Regions from separate parts of the Homo sapiens genome. Here all the other regions are linked to region 3. Evidence: promoter capture Hi-C in human tissues and cell types (Jung and others, 2019). All regions are on one chromosome and are shown on one strand. The core of a region is centred on a gene start or on the middle of the fragment in contact, and the rest is flanking DNA. Distances in the headings are between cores, read along the strand shown. Region 1 has its middle 6.2 kb from the start of TRX-CAT1-8. Region 2 holds the start of SLC16A3 (solute carrier family 16 member 3). Region 3 holds the start of UTS2R (urotensin 2 receptor). Region 4 overlaps FOXK2 (forkhead box K2). Region 5 overlaps FOXK2 (forkhead box K2).

Evidence for each region. The method cuts DNA at HindIII sites, captures the fragments that hold promoters and counts their contacts. A contact is called where the count stands out against the background at its distance.
Region 1: a fragment that was not itself captured here is called in contact with the fragment with the promoter of UTS2R in region 3 in 1 of the 25 tissues and cell types used here (bladder).
Region 2: a contact is called between the fragment with the promoter of SLC16A3 here and the fragment with the promoter of UTS2R in region 3, in 1 of the 25 tissues and cell types used here (dorsolateral prefrontal cortex).
Region 4: a contact is called between a fragment that was not itself captured here and the fragment with the promoter of UTS2R in region 3, in 1 of the 25 tissues and cell types used here (IMR-90 fibroblasts).
Region 5: a contact is called between a fragment that was not itself captured here and the fragment with the promoter of UTS2R in region 3, in 2 of the 25 tissues and cell types used here (IMR-90 fibroblasts and lymphoblastoid cells).

Annotation. Positions count from the first base shown.
Region 1 is chr17:82,499,508-82,502,396 of GRCh38, reverse strand. No RefSeq gene overlaps it. Among named protein-coding and RNA genes, the nearest start is that of TRX-CAT1-8, 6.2 kb to the right of the region's middle. The HindIII fragment of the contact is 3,093 bases long and covers 84-2,889 here.
Region 2 is chr17:82,227,674-82,230,373 of GRCh38, reverse strand. It overlaps SLC16A3 (solute carrier family 16 member 3), which reads right to left and starts at 1,332. Exons shown (of 5, transcript NM_004207.4): 1 at 1,268-1,332. RefSeq lists silencers at 867-916, 927-1,086, 1,207-1,526, 1,687-1,826, 1,877-1,956 and 1 more. The HindIII fragment of the contact is 28,829 bases long and covers 1-2,700 here.
Region 3 is chr17:82,370,433-82,373,132 of GRCh38, reverse strand. It overlaps UTS2R (urotensin 2 receptor), which reads right to left and starts at 1,368. Exons shown (of 3, transcript NM_018949.3): 1 at 1,086-1,368; 2 at 350-535. The HindIII fragment of the contact is 34,629 bases long and covers 1-2,700 here.
Region 4 is chr17:82,599,360-82,602,059 of GRCh38, reverse strand. FOXK2 (forkhead box K2) reads right to left here. Exons shown (of 9, transcript NM_004514.4): 9 at 1-757. The coding sequence ends at 561. Among named protein-coding and RNA genes, the nearest start is that of FOXK2-AS1, 12 kb to the right of the region's middle. RefSeq lists an enhancer at 1,819-2,068. The HindIII fragment of the contact is 9,195 bases long and covers 1-2,700 here.
Region 5 is chr17:82,572,069-82,574,899 of GRCh38, reverse strand. The region is part of intron 4 of FOXK2 (forkhead box K2); the gene reads right to left. Among named protein-coding and RNA genes, the nearest start is that of FOXK2-AS1, 15 kb to the left of the region's middle. The HindIII fragment of the contact is 5,132 bases long and covers 1-2,831 here.

The DNA.
Region 1 (2,889 bases), core at 381-2,880, 130 kb before region 3:
AATGATGACATTCCAGTAGCAACGTGCACGGCCAGTGCCCAGATGTTGATTCCTAACACCATTCTTCAACAAAATCGCCAGTGCTCCTTGGACAAATGTTAAGAAACTGCCAAACCTTTCCAAAGTGACTGCCCCATTCTGTACCCCGCCAGCCATGTAGCAGGGTCCCACTTGCTCTTCCCAACTCTTGGCATGACCACACTTCTTTTTTTTTGAGATGGAGTTTTGCTCTTGTTGCCCAGGCTGGAGGGCAGTGGTGCAATCTCAGCTCACTGCAACCTCTGCCTCCTGAGTTCAAGCGATTCTCCTGCCTCAACCTCCCGAGTAGCTGGGATTACAGGCACCCACTACCAAGCCCAGCTAATTTTTGTATTTTTAATAGAGACGGGGTTTCACCATGTTGCCAGACTGGTCTCGAGCTCCTGACCTCAGGTGATCCGCCCGCCTCAGCCTCCCAAAGTGCTGGGGTTACAGGGGTGAGCCACCGCACCCGGCCATGACCACCCTTTTCTTTCATCACAGTCACTCCAGTGGGTACGTGGTGGCATCTCATTGTGGTGTTATGCTGGGTATCTTTTTTTTTTGGAGACATGGTCTTACTCTGTCACCCTGGCTGGAGTGTAGTAGTGGTACGATCTCGGCATACTGCAGCCTCAACCTCCCAGGTTCAAGCAGTCCTCCCACCTCAGCCTCCCAAGTAGCTGGGACTACAGGTGTGCACCACCACGCTCGGCTAAATTTTGTATTTTTTGTACAGATGCGGTTTTGCCATGCTGCCCAGTCTGGTCTCAAACTCCTGGCCTGAAGTGATCCGCCAGCCTTGGCCTCCCGAAGTCCTGGGGTTGCAGGCGAGAGCCACCGTGCCCGGCCTGTGCATCTTTTCATGGGTTGACTAACCATGATCACAGCACAGGTTTTTTAGTCCCCGCTGTCTACAGAATCAGAGAATGTGAGTGTCCAGGCTAGGGGACTTGGTAGAGGGAAGAAAGCTGGAGACTGAGAGTCAAGGTCTTTGCCTCCACTGGGGGTGGAGGTAGAGGGTGGGGAGGCAGGACCTGGGACCCAGGTCTCCACTGGCTATTGCCAACACTGCATGATCAAGTCTACACCTCTTGCTCCTGCTACCAGTGACTCCACACCTCCACAGCCATAATTTTAGAAAAATCTTTTGGCTGGGCGCAGTGGCTTATGCCTGTAATCCTAGCACTTTGGGAGGCCGAGGAGGGTGGATCATTTGAGGTCAGGAGTTCGAGACCAGCCTGGCCAACACGGTGAAACCTCGTCTCTACTAAAAATACAAAAATTAGCCGGGCGTGGTGGTGAGCACCTGTAATCCCAGCTACTCGGGAGGCTGAGGCAGGAGAATCGCTTCAACCTGGGAGGTGGAAGTTGCAGTGAGCCGAGATCACACCACTGCACTCCAGCTTGGGCGACAGAGTAAGACTCCCTCTCAAAAAAAAAAAAAAAATTTTTTTTTTGGCTGGGCACAGTGGCTCATGCCTGTAGTCCCAGCTACTCACGAGGCTGAGGTGGGATGATCCCTGGAGTCCAGGAGTTTGAGTTCACCTGGCCAAAGAGGCTGGCTGGGAAGATCTGAGGCCCAGCCATAGGGCCCCAGGTAGGGCAGTGTCCACCCTGCCTCCTGGGGAAGCACTGGAGGAGGCATGGGGGTTGTGCTGGGCTCTGCAGTCCCTTCGACCCAGCTATGCTATGGCCAGCTGCCACGTGCTCACCTGGCCAGAAATTGACCCACGGGGCTCCTGACCACTAGCCCCAGGCAAGAGGAGCACACAAGGCTTGGGGAGATCAAGCTTTGAAATACTTCCCAACACACAGTCTGGAACATTCTCCGAACATCTGACTCCCATAGTGTGAGCAGAGAACCTACTCTTGAATGCTGGTCAGGATGGGAAATCCCTCCTGGAGGGCAGATTCTATGGAGCTGGTCCCTGCCCCACAGCAGAAATTTTGCTGCAGTGAACCATTTCTTGGAATGCCTGTGCTTGCAGGGCACACGCCTGTGGCAGCACCAACTGTGATCCCTGGAGTGTGAAGTCACATCAAGGCTTTGCACATCTGAAACATATGCAATTGTCCTGAGAAATTCTGGAAGTTCCAGAAGAAATAACACACAAATTGCTAATAACACAGCAAAAGTAGCTGAAGAGATGTGTGTTCTCAGGACAGAACCCCTTCACACACTCGCAAGTCAGTATGTGTGGTGTATTGTTATTTTGTTTATTTATTGATGGAGTCTCTGTCTGTCGCCCAGGCTGGAGTGCAGTGACATGATCTCTGCTCACTGCAACCTCCACTTCCTAGGTTCAAGCGATTCTCCTGCTTCAGCCTCCCGAGTAGCTGGGACGACAGGCGCATGCCACCATGCCCGGCTAAATTTTTGTATTTTTTTTTTTTTTTTTTTGAGACGGAGCCTCGCTCTGTCGCCCAGGCTGGAGTGCAGTGGCGTGATCTGGGCTCACTGCAAGCTCCGCCTCCCGGGTTCACGCCATTCTCCTGCCTCAGCCTCCCAAGTAGCTGGAACTACAGGCATCCACCACCACACCCAGCTAATTTTTTGTATTTTTAGTAGAGACGGGGTTTCACCACGTTAGCCAGGATGGTCTTGATCTCCTGACCTCACGATCCGCCTGCCTTGGCCTCCCAAAGTGCTGGGATTACAGGCGTGAGCCACCGCGCCCGGTGAATTTTTTGTATTTTTAGTAGAGATGGGGTTTCATTGTGTTAGCCAGGATGGTCTCGATCTCCTGACCTCGTGATCCGCCCACCTCAGCCTCCCAAAGTACTGGGATTACAGGCGTGAGCCACCGCATCCGGCCAGTGTATTGTTATTTTATTACACAATTGTGGAGCTCAAGACAAAGTACTGTA
Region 2 (2,700 bases), core at 83-2,582, 140 kb after region 3:
CCTCCAGGTGCCCACCCCAGACTCTGTCCACACCATGGGGCCCTGGGGGACAGACGCTGCACGTGCCACGGCAGAGCCCCCATGCACTCAAAGCCTCTCTGGGGGCAGACACCCCCCCACGGCCTCCTAGCACCTCCTCAGTTCCTTCCCTCCATGAGGGAGTCGAGCCCAGCCGCCTCCACACCACGCTGGCGGAATAGACCCTCCTTCAGCAGGGTCAGGCCAGCACCCACCTGACTTCCAGGCCTGTGCAGTGAAGCTGGGACCTTGGACTCCCCGGCCCCAACAGACACAAGACCTCCCACCCTTGTGCTCAGCATGGACAAGCCCCTGGGCCTTGGGGTGGGCCAACTGCCATTTCCCGCCCAGCAGGCCTGACTCTGGCCATCACCAGGAGAGGGACCCTTTCAGCCCATGCCTCTGGGACAGAGAGGAGGACAGCCGCCCCTCGGCTCCCCCCATCGTCCCTCACCGACTCCAGCCACCCCTGGAGGCCCCGGCCAGAGCTAAGGGCTTCCCTTCCACTCTGCGGCTCCTGTCTCTTGACTGGCCCAACACCCAGGGAGGCTCCTGACCAACCCACTTTTCGTATAGGGAAACTGAGGCGTGGGTTAGGAAGTGGGAGGCTACCAAAGGCTGCGCCTGGTTTTCCCACGAGCTGGGGGCCAGGGGTGGAGGTAGGGCGAACCCAGGGAGCCCAGCCTGGCTCTGGAGAGGGTCCCCCACTTCCCTGCACGGTCTCGGGCTGTTAGTCATTGCCCAAGGGCGGGTGTGGGTCGGGGAGTGTTCAGGGTGTTGCGAACAGGGGAAAGCGCCACGGCCCGAGCGCAAGTGCTCCCCACTCCCTCGGGGAGGCCACCCATACAGGGAGGGCTGCAGCAGCCCCACCAAATATAGCCCGCGCCCCCCGCCACCGCGGACCGAGCTATTTATACCCGGACCGGGCTTGGCCGCCGGCGCAGCCATCTCCTGGCCCGAGCCCAGCCCCTGAGGGCAGCCCGACGGGTGGGCGCCGGGCCGGACCGGGGGAGACGAGACTGGGCAGCCAGGTATGCGAGGGCGCGGAGGGGCGCGGCTGGCTCTCGGGAGCCCTCGGTGGGGCCCGCTCGGGGTCGAGAAGGCTAGTCCATGCCCCGGGCGCCCCCGGACCTGATGGACAAAGTGGGCGGGGTGGGGGTGAGAGCGCGGACCCCGAGGTCGCCCCCTTGCCCGGCACGGGGGAGCTCCTGGGCCCCGGCCCGCGCGCGAGCATCGCGGCCGCGCCTACCTGCCGCCGCTGGGCCGCCTCAGCCCGCCTCTCGCCGCCTCTCGCCGCCTCTGCCCGCCTCTGCCGGTCCGCTCCGCGCCGGGGGCGACTTTAAGTGCTCGGGTCGCTGGCGCGGCACGTCCCCCGCGCACGTCACCGCCTGGCGCCGCCCCTGCGCGCCCCGCCCGGACCCCGCGCCGCCTCCGGACGGGCTCCCGGGCCGCAGCTCCCCGACGGCGCGTCCCGCAACCCCGCCGGGCCCAGGGACCCCCCCAACCGGAACCGGCCCCGTCGGCGCCCCCGGCCCGGAGCTGGCCCGCCCCCTCTGCTCCTCGGGACTGGGTCTTCCCGGCCTCGCCTCCCCCGGAGTCCAGGCTCGCTTCGCCCCTCCGCCCCGCCGTCCCTCCGTTTCCCCGCCTCGGAGCGCAGCGCGGCAGGTCCCAACGTCCTCCAGGGCAGCGACCCCTCGCCCCCCAACGCCGGGGCCCCTTTGGTGGGGAGGTGCGCGCGGGTCCCGTGGGGTTCCGGCCGCCTGGCTCAGCTCCGGGGCCCACATCCTCCCTCTCTGAGGCCACGTCCGACCTGTCCCCCTTCAGACCTCCGCTTCCTCTCCGGTCCCGGTGCGGACGGCGGCTCTTCCTGGCTAGGGGAGCGGCCCGCGGCCTGCGCTGCCTGGATGTGGGGCACGGCCTCGCCCTCCCTGAACTTCCGTTTCCCCAGGTGGCTCCGCGCCCTGCGGGGCCCTACAAAGCCACCGACTCCAGCCCTGCGCCCCTGCCCCGCCCCTCTCGCGGCCCAGAACCCGACGCGGAGGCCGGGGCGGCTCCCACCTTCGGGGAGGCGAGGGCTGCCCACCCGCTGGACCTCGTGAGGTGCTTCTCCCAGCCTGTTTTCTCTCATTTGCAACATGGAAATAACGGGCCGCTTTGGGTGCTGAGGTTTGAGGTGGCTCCAGGGAGTAAGGCCTTTGTTGGCCTGGACCAAGGAGTCTAGTTGTCAGGGCCACCCTGCCAGGGCCACAGGAATGCTTTAACTGGCCCCTCCCGGACCCGGGGGCTTCGGGGACCGAGGCACTGGTAAGCCCGTGCCTTCACACACAAAGGAGGCAGGGGGTATCAATGGAGGACCCCTCCAGAGGGCAAGGGGAGGCCACCCCTGACAGTGAGGCCGTGTGGGCCTTGGCTCTCCATCTGCAGCCCAGCCTTGCGGGACATCAGGTCCAGTAAGGCCGCCTGTTCTTTCTATGTAATGTTACAAGCCCACCCTCCCGCTGGCATTCACAGAGGCTGGGTCTGGCCCTCACCCCTACCTGGGGCCCAACCACCCCCATCCCCAAACATCAAGATGAGGGCACGTGCCTGTGAGCAGAACACAGGCCTGTGGCAAGTGGTGAGGGGGCCTCCAACTTCACAGATGAAGACTCTACTTAGTTGGCCCGTGCTGCTCCCGCCCAG
Region 3 (2,700 bases), core at 119-2,618:
AGAAAAATATAGGGAAGAACTGCAAATTAGTAAGGAAAAGACAAACAACCCATTTGAAAAAAAGAGACCAAAACCGTGACCGGGGACTTCCTGAAAAGGACACCCACGCAGCCAACAAGCAGGGAAATGCCAGTCAGGGCCACAGGAGCCCCTGCGTGCTGACAAGGATGAACGCGTGAAAAGGCAGATATCCTTGTCAACAGGCGTGGGGGCTGTGGAGGAGCTGGCCCTGCCGTTTCCTGTTGCTGGGAACCTGGACTGTGCCGCCGCTTTGGAAAGCCATTGGCACGATTTGCAGAGTTGACCGCCTATACCTTCTCACCCGGCAATTCTACTCTCAGGTTAGTACCTTAGATAAAGGGCTGCCAACGTTCAGAAAATGACAAGCGTGCGAAAGTTCACGGCAGCTTGACTCCTAAGAAGCTGGAAACAGCTCAAATGTCCCCAGTGGACGGGGCAGGCAAACTGTGACATGAAGCCAGTGAAGGAGTCGCCGCTGGGGTCAGCAGCCTGGATGAAACAGCGCGGTGGTGGGCTGAAGAAACAAGACACAGGAGGCTGCCTGATTCCACGAGCCACGCTGAATTTAGGCCGAACACTCATGGCTGCGCAGGGAGCAGTCTTGGCTGGGGTGGGGAGTTGTCAACAGGTGGGGGCGCTGGGGGCCTTCCAGGGCCTGGAAATGTGCCCTGTCCGCCCTTTCCCACCAGGCCGAGCAGCTCCCAGCTCCATCTGTCCAGGGGACCCTCACCCCCTTGCTGCCCCCACCCAGGGCATTTCCAGAGCCCTCACCCAGGGGACGGCGCAGAAGCCGAGGGTGCACCGGGCTCCCCAGTTGTGCGCGAGCCCGAGTCACGGGCAGGGGGACAGCGGCCGCCGGGCCGCTAGGATTGCTCCAGGGTCGCTAGGGGGGAAGGGGAGGGGCCGAAAGTTCCACGGCACGGGAGAAGCCGCCTCGCTGGACCCCGCTCCCCTCGCCCAGGGTGGGTTCCCACCGCGAAACCCCGGCCCAGCCCTGCGGAGGGCCCCGAAGGGCACAGACCCGGCAGTCCCCGCGCGCTCCCGGTCACCCACCGAGGACCCACCTGCCTCCGGTCACTGAGCGGCCAGACCTGCCCGCCGAGCCTGGGGTCGCGCGTGGGGGCAGCCGCTCGCGGCTCCAAACTCCTCGCGCAGCGGGGCCGCGGGGAACTTTCCGAGGCGCGCTCCCCTGTCCCAGCGCAGAGGGGGCGCGAGGGGCTCCGCGGTGGCCTCGGCTTCCAGAGCACACGGCAGGGGCGCCCGCCAGTCCCGCCACCAAAGCCGCGCCCCCCGCCCCGCGCCGGGTCTCTGCGCCGCCGCCACCTGCCCGCCGCCAGCTGGGAATGCGCCGCGCCCCGCGCCAGGGCCCGGTATTAAAATAACCCCAGCGGGCAGCAGGCGCGCGGAGGGGACGGCGCCGGGTGTCTAGGGGGCGGCGCTGACCGCGCGGCGCCGGGAAGACGCGGGGGTCGCGGGGCCGCAGCGGGGTCGGCGGAGGGTCCCAGGCGGGTCTCGCGTCTGCGTCTGCGGAGCGAAGCTGCCTCCAGCCCGGCTGCCCCAAGGCTGACCCCGCAGCCCCTCTTGGGTTCTCCGCCTCCAGCGTTCACCCCTGCGCCCCTCACGCCCGTGTTTGCAGGGCACGGAGCCTGGGATTCTCCGTGTCCACCAAGCCCTGGACCCGCCCGCGCGCAGGTGGGGGGCAGGAACACCCCTAAACCCCGAGAGGGTCATAGAAAGGAGGTAAGGGAGGGAGGGAGTCACCCGCCCAGGCGGGGACGGGCTCTTTGGGGGCCTTGACCCCGCCCCTGTTGCGGGTCTCCCACAGATGCTCTTAGAAGCCCACGCAGCCTCTCCAGGCCTCGGCAGGGACTCGTGGTGGCCACATCCACGGAAGTGACGCTGGGAGCTGCAGGGCCCCGCGGGGTAGGAGGAAGGACCCCACAGCCTCACCCTCGAGCCCCTGAGCTGGGTGCTGGCCCCCACTCGGTTTCACTTGCTGCTCGGAGGTAGGATGTGGGCCTTCACTCATGCTGAACCCCTGAAAGAAAAAGACACAGAACATTAATAAATTAGACTAGAGGAGAGCTGGAGAGCTGTGAACACGGGGTCTAAAGGGCCCCCAGCGAGGAGCTGGCCTCGCCCACTCCACTCCGCCCGGGGCTCATCTGCTGCCTGAGGCCGCGGACCGGCCCCTAAAGCTGAAGGGGTTCTGCTGGGGGAGAGGAGGTGGCCAAGTGTGAATGGCCGAGAGGCTCCTGCAATCAGCTGGATCCGGGGGAGCCCCAGATGCCCACCAGTCCCCTCCGTGGGACGTTTGCCACGTGCTGGGGAGGCGAGGCTGGGCTGGAGAGGGCGGGAAAAGTCCCTCTGGTCTCCGAGCGTCCGCTGGACGGAGCAAGGGTCACACAATAAGACAGTTCATTCTCTGTGAGCTGAAAACAGCCGAACTGAAACCAAATACAGCTGCAGCTTCCGACCCGAAAGGGGAGCAGCTCATCCTGCCTGTGCGCGGGAGGAAAGGGGGTGGAAGGCTGCCTCCGACGTGATGGTTCTGTGAGAGCTGATTACTAAGCTGGAGTCTAGGGGCTAGGGCTGGGGAAAAGCACTCAGGACCCAGAATGCCTGCTCCAAGAATTAAATTTCCCGCAAGCCAGCTGCCGAAACGATCTGCTGTCACCT
Region 4 (2,700 bases), core at 111-2,610, 230 kb before region 3:
CAAAAACAAAACTACGTTGTTTCTTTGCCCCAAATGAAATCCACGGAAAGGGCCTGTGTGATTCTGAAAGTCTCAGTAGAAATGGAGTGATGTGAAATGCCCAAGACCCCATTATTTTGTAAAGAAAGGACACCTCAAAATACTCTAATTCCACATGTCTCCGCTGCCTGGTGGGTCCTGTGAGGGCGGCGGGGATGGCTCCCCCCGCGTCCTGAGGCCTAGTCTTGGGAGACCCACTCACAGCAGGCGCTGGCCGTGCCGTCCTCACACAGCGATGCCTGGTCCTCGCGGGAGGACAGAGTTTCACTCGTAGGTAGAAGCTCAGCCCAGCAGGTGCTCAGTGGAGACACCGTCTCCCAAATCAGGTTTTGTTGTGTGTGGGTTTTGTTCAAGTGTGACTTCTGTCTTTAAGGAGTGTTAAGGCCAGCTGGGTTTTGGGTTTTCAGTGCTGAGAGGTGAAGTCCAACCACAGGGCCCTGCACCCCCGAGTGCTGGCGGGAGGCCGCGTCTCCTTTTGGCACCACAGAGTTGATATCGTTAAAGAAAAGCTCTCCCGGTCGCTAGTTCTGGACACCCTTTTCCCTTACGGCTGCCGGTGGCGTGTCCACGCTCAGGGCAATGACGATGCCCTCGCCGTCTTCTGTCTTGATCCGCTTCAGCTCCGGCTGCTCCGGCTGGTCACCGTTGTGGCGCTTTGTGGGCAGGGAGGCCGATGCGGATGCGTGTGTTGCCAACATGTGCAAAGGACTCGCCGCGGCTGAAATGACACGAGGGAGTCAGAACCCCACGCTCTCACGTGAACCCTCGCGACTCAGAACCCCACGCTCTCACGTGAACCCTCGCGAGTCAGAACCCCACGCTCTCATGTGAACTCTCGCCCTCTAAGGGTCCTGCCACTCCCAGGCCCGCGGAGGCTCCCACAAGACCCCAGGGACTGGCCCACGGTGGCCAAGGGCACAGGAGCCTGGGCTGGGCCCTTGGGACCCCAAAAAACTGCAGCAAGTGAACTGCCTGATTAGCGGACATTTTTATTAACAGCTGGCATCATCTTTGTTATGTCCTATAAATAGGCTATTTTGATGTCACTGCTGGGGGAGAAAGGCTGAGTCCAGTAGTGGTTGAGGCAGACAGGAGATGGCCCTGCTGGCTCGGCGAAGGAGTGGCTGCCGCTCGCTGCTCTCCCTCATGCGGAGGCCCTGCCCTCGCCCCCCCACCACCCGCACAAGATGCTCCTGGACCATTTCCACACAGAAGGGAGCGGGGCTCCATCTGTCCCATAGGAGAGAAGCACCACAGTTTCTCATGGATGCTGCTCACCTGTGTCCTGGGTCAGTCCACAGAGGTGTGTGGGCAGAACAGAGACTGCTGGCTGCTAACGGCTGACCAGGCTGAGTTAATTCCAAAGGCCAAGCTTCCAACTAACATGCGATGGGTAATGTTATGTGCCAGCCTGGCTGAGCCACAGTGCCCAGATTTTGGTCAACCATTAATCTGGATGTTTCTGTATAGTTACTTCTTTAGATGAAATTAACATTTAAATCAGTCAGCTCTGAGTAAATCAGCTGATCGCCATGAGTGGGTGGGCCTCATCCAATCAGGTGAAGGACTAAGAAAAGACTGAGGTCCTCTGAGGGGAGCACTCTGCCCTGGATGGCCTCTGGACTCTTGAGAATCCAGCACTGACTCTTTCCCCGGGGTTCGGTCCACCCTGCAGATGCTGAGCTTGGCAGGCCCCACAACAGAGTGGGCAGATTCCACAGAATCTGTCTCCAGGCCGCCGCCTTGGCTCTGTTTCTCTGGGGCACCCTCACCTACCAGGTGCCATCAGGACCCCACCATCTCCAGCTTCCGGCACAGGCCAGTCCTCCTTGTGGGCGGCGGCATTTCTGGAAGACGCTGTCACCTCCCCAGGGGGCACTTCTTGGTGGGCCCCGTGATGCTCTGAGAAGCAGGTCCTAGGCCCCTAGGCTGCGCACACACCAGCCACTGCACTTCTCTAACCCAAGACCAACTCAGAGCACCCCAGGGTGGGAGCAGGAACACACCCCTGGGAGGCCCCAAAGCAGCTGTGCAGCAACCACTTCAGGCTGTCCCAGGAGGCTCAGAGCAGACACGCCTACAGGGCAGTACCTGAACCCAACCACAAACACAGCACACATGGTACGCTACGCCCTGGTGCCTAGAGATGTGGGAGGGGGACTTGCCCACCTGTCCGTCAAGGGCCAGCCCTCTCAGACCACAGGCCCTGGCGTGGGCAATACCCGCCTCCTACTCGCAGTCCCCTGCAGGGACGCTGGCTGGTCAGAGACCGACCTCCGCCCCCAGGTCTTCCCTAGCGGAGCGGATGTGAGTCCGGCCAGGTGCGTGGTCAGCTCCTCATGGCCAGATAGCCGGGGCAGCCACGAAGAGCGGGAGTCAACACTGGGCTCCGAAGAGACTCAAGCAGCAAACGGGGACCCAGTGACATCGGGTCAGCCGTGAGAGCCCCGTTTTAGAATTCAGGACATAGCCCTGAGGCCACAGAGGTGTGTTCCCTGGAAGCCAAACCCCTGTCAACAGTGTGGATGTGTGACTTTATCGTGTTCCCTTCTCCTTTCCACCTCTGAGCAACAGAAATAGCAGAGGACCAATTTACACATAAAACATGAACAAGAGGCCAGGTGCGGTGGCTCACGCCTGTAATCCCAGCACTTTGGAAGG
Region 5 (2,831 bases), core at 103-2,602, 200 kb before region 3:
ACAAAAGAAAGACATATGGCATCTTTTCAAATAGGATTCCTCAGACCATCTCATTTCACCCTCAGATGTCCTCTGTGGATTGACCAAAAAGCTATACCATAGGTAGACAATACAAAACACCTGGCTTTTGTTGTAAGCCAGGAGGGAGGAAGTCAGAATAAGGTCTGAGGCACTGGGAAGGGCGGCTCAGAGAATCTCATGGCACAGGAAGAGCCCGTGAGGGTCAGTATTCTGACAGCCAAGGGTACAGCTGAGGACAGAAAGAAATTCAAAGTACATTGGCCAGGCGCGGTGGCTCACGCCTGTAATCCCAGCACTTCGGGAGACCGAGGCAGGCAGATCACCCGAGGTCGGGAGTTCAACACCAGCCTGACCAACATGGAGGAACCCCGTCTCTGCTAAAAATACAAAATTAGCCGGGTGTGGTGGCTCAAGCCTGTAGTCCCAGCTACTCATGAGGCTGAGGCAGGAGAATCGCTTGAACCTGGGAGGCGGAGGTTGCAGTGAGCCGAGATCGCGCCATTGCACTCCAGCCTGGGCAACAAGAGCAAAACTCTATCTCAAAAAAAAAAAAAAAAGAGAGAGAGTAATGTCCATGAACTAGGAGGAATCTGGAGAAACTAATCCCTCTCCCGCTTAATTAGCTGGAGCCACGAGGCATGAAATGACACAGGAGTGGCCTTACTGGGGAAAGAGATGCAGCTGTAGACTTACAGACCTCCATCTAGACAGGAGAGAAAATGTTTCAACAGAAACAAGTTTAATAGCAGTTCAGCAGAGAAGGGTGCCTGACGTGTGCTAGTCTGTCATTCCCTGCCGACGTGAGCTGTGCAGGCACCTGCAATAGACGACAGAAAGCAGGGCATGCATGAGGGGTCCCGTGGGGTCCTCGCCACTTCACGACTGTGGTCCAGGAGAGCCTTGCTCCAAGGGCTCTGCTCCCCAAAAGACCTGTCCTGACTTGGGCCCCCCCAAAACTGAGGCCAGGCCTTTATCCAGCCACCCTCTTTAGCAAGAAAGCCTTGTCCTGTTCATAGGTAGTTCTCAAATAAATGGATGTTAGAAAAAACACACAGAAATACCACTTAAGAGAAACACATTAGAGTCTAATAAAGCTTCTTAGAAACACACTGACAAAGCCCCAGGTAACTGGTATCTCAAACCATCAGAATAAGCTGTAAACTCTGAGGGACCCTCACACACTCCCACAGAGCAAGCTGGACCCCATGTGGAGTTTCTCTCCTTGACAAAGCCATAAAGCCATGGTCACTGGAACATGGGTAGAAGTTATTATCTGGTTGTGTGTGTGTGTGTGTGTGTGTGTGTGTGTGTGTGTGAGAGAGAGAGAGAGAGAGAGAGAGAGTGTGTGTGTGTATGTATATAGTTTGAAGCACAGCCTCAGTTTTATAGAGTAAATACGGCCAGAATTTAGCATGCAATATGTTAAGAGACCCTGACATGTAACTGAATATGGAACTACTCTCCAAATCCAGCATTTTCCTAATGGTCAATTAAGAGATACCCCCTTGCTGTAGACAGGAAGGCAGGCAGGACAGGGTATAGACACTCCAGGTATGGGGGGTGGGCACAAGGTGGGCCAGAGGGGAGGCTGGGTCTCATTCTGTACCTTCCATGATTAAAGACCCCCAAGCCCCTCCACAAAGGAAATATGGAAGACGTGGCTGGTAGGCTTTTTTTTTCCTTTTTGAGACAGGGTCTTGCTCTGTCACCCAGGCTGGAGTGCAGTGGTGTGATCACAGATATCTGTAACCTCTGCTTCCTGGGCTCAGGTGATCCTCCCACCTCAGCCTCTGGAGTAGCTGGGACTACAAGCGTAAGCCACCACACTCAGCTAATTTTTTTTTATTTTTTGTAGAGACAGGGTCTCGCCATGTTGCCCAGGCTGCTCTCGAAATCCTAGAGTCACGCGATCCACCTGCCTCGGCTCTCAAAGTGCTAGAATTATAGGCATGAGTTACTGTGCCCGGCCGGTAGGCTATTTTTTAACATAACATGTTTATACATCTGTGGTTAAAACAAAAAAGGTTTTTCCCCTTCAATAAATAGAAAACAGTTGCCCCTGCACCATCCTTACCACTAAGCCATGTAGTTTAGATGTTTTTTTAAAGGATCATTTACTCATTAAAGCCTCAAAGAAATTCTATAGATGTTCCTGGTTACTTAATGAATTAAAAAACTATAAGCATACATACATTTCTTCTCTATGTTTTTAATATTCTATATTTCAAACCTACCCACTGCCAAATTATTTCAAATAGCAAGATTCTCATATACATCCAGTAAACAGCCAACACAACACAGATACACAGAGAAAAAACCTACATAATCTAAAGGGTTAAAATTATTGGCATAACAGAGCGAGACTCTGACTCAAAAAAAAAAAAAAAAATTATTGGTGTGTGAGCTGACCAAAGGGAATATTTTGCAGATTTCAAAGTGTCTCTTGGGGGTAGCCCCGGGGTTCCACGACCAGGTGGGCTCCCCGGCTGAGACAGGGCACACCACGTTCATCTGTTTTTTACCCCGGCCAACTGGTTAAGATGTCTTCTAAGTGTTCCTTGGTAAAATGCGGTTTGAAAACTGTCTCTGCAAACTTCAAAACTTCTGTCCATTAGCAGGATTAGATGAGGAAGACAGGAGAATGCCAAAGGGAAGGATAGGCTGGGTTTTAAATTTCTCCTACATTTCAAATATGAACTGCATTGGTCAAAGGGAAATATCTCAAACAATCCACACTTCACAAATCCTATGCAGACACATGAATTTCCACAACAGTAAAGCATGCAGGCCTAGACGCTCCTCCAGAACCA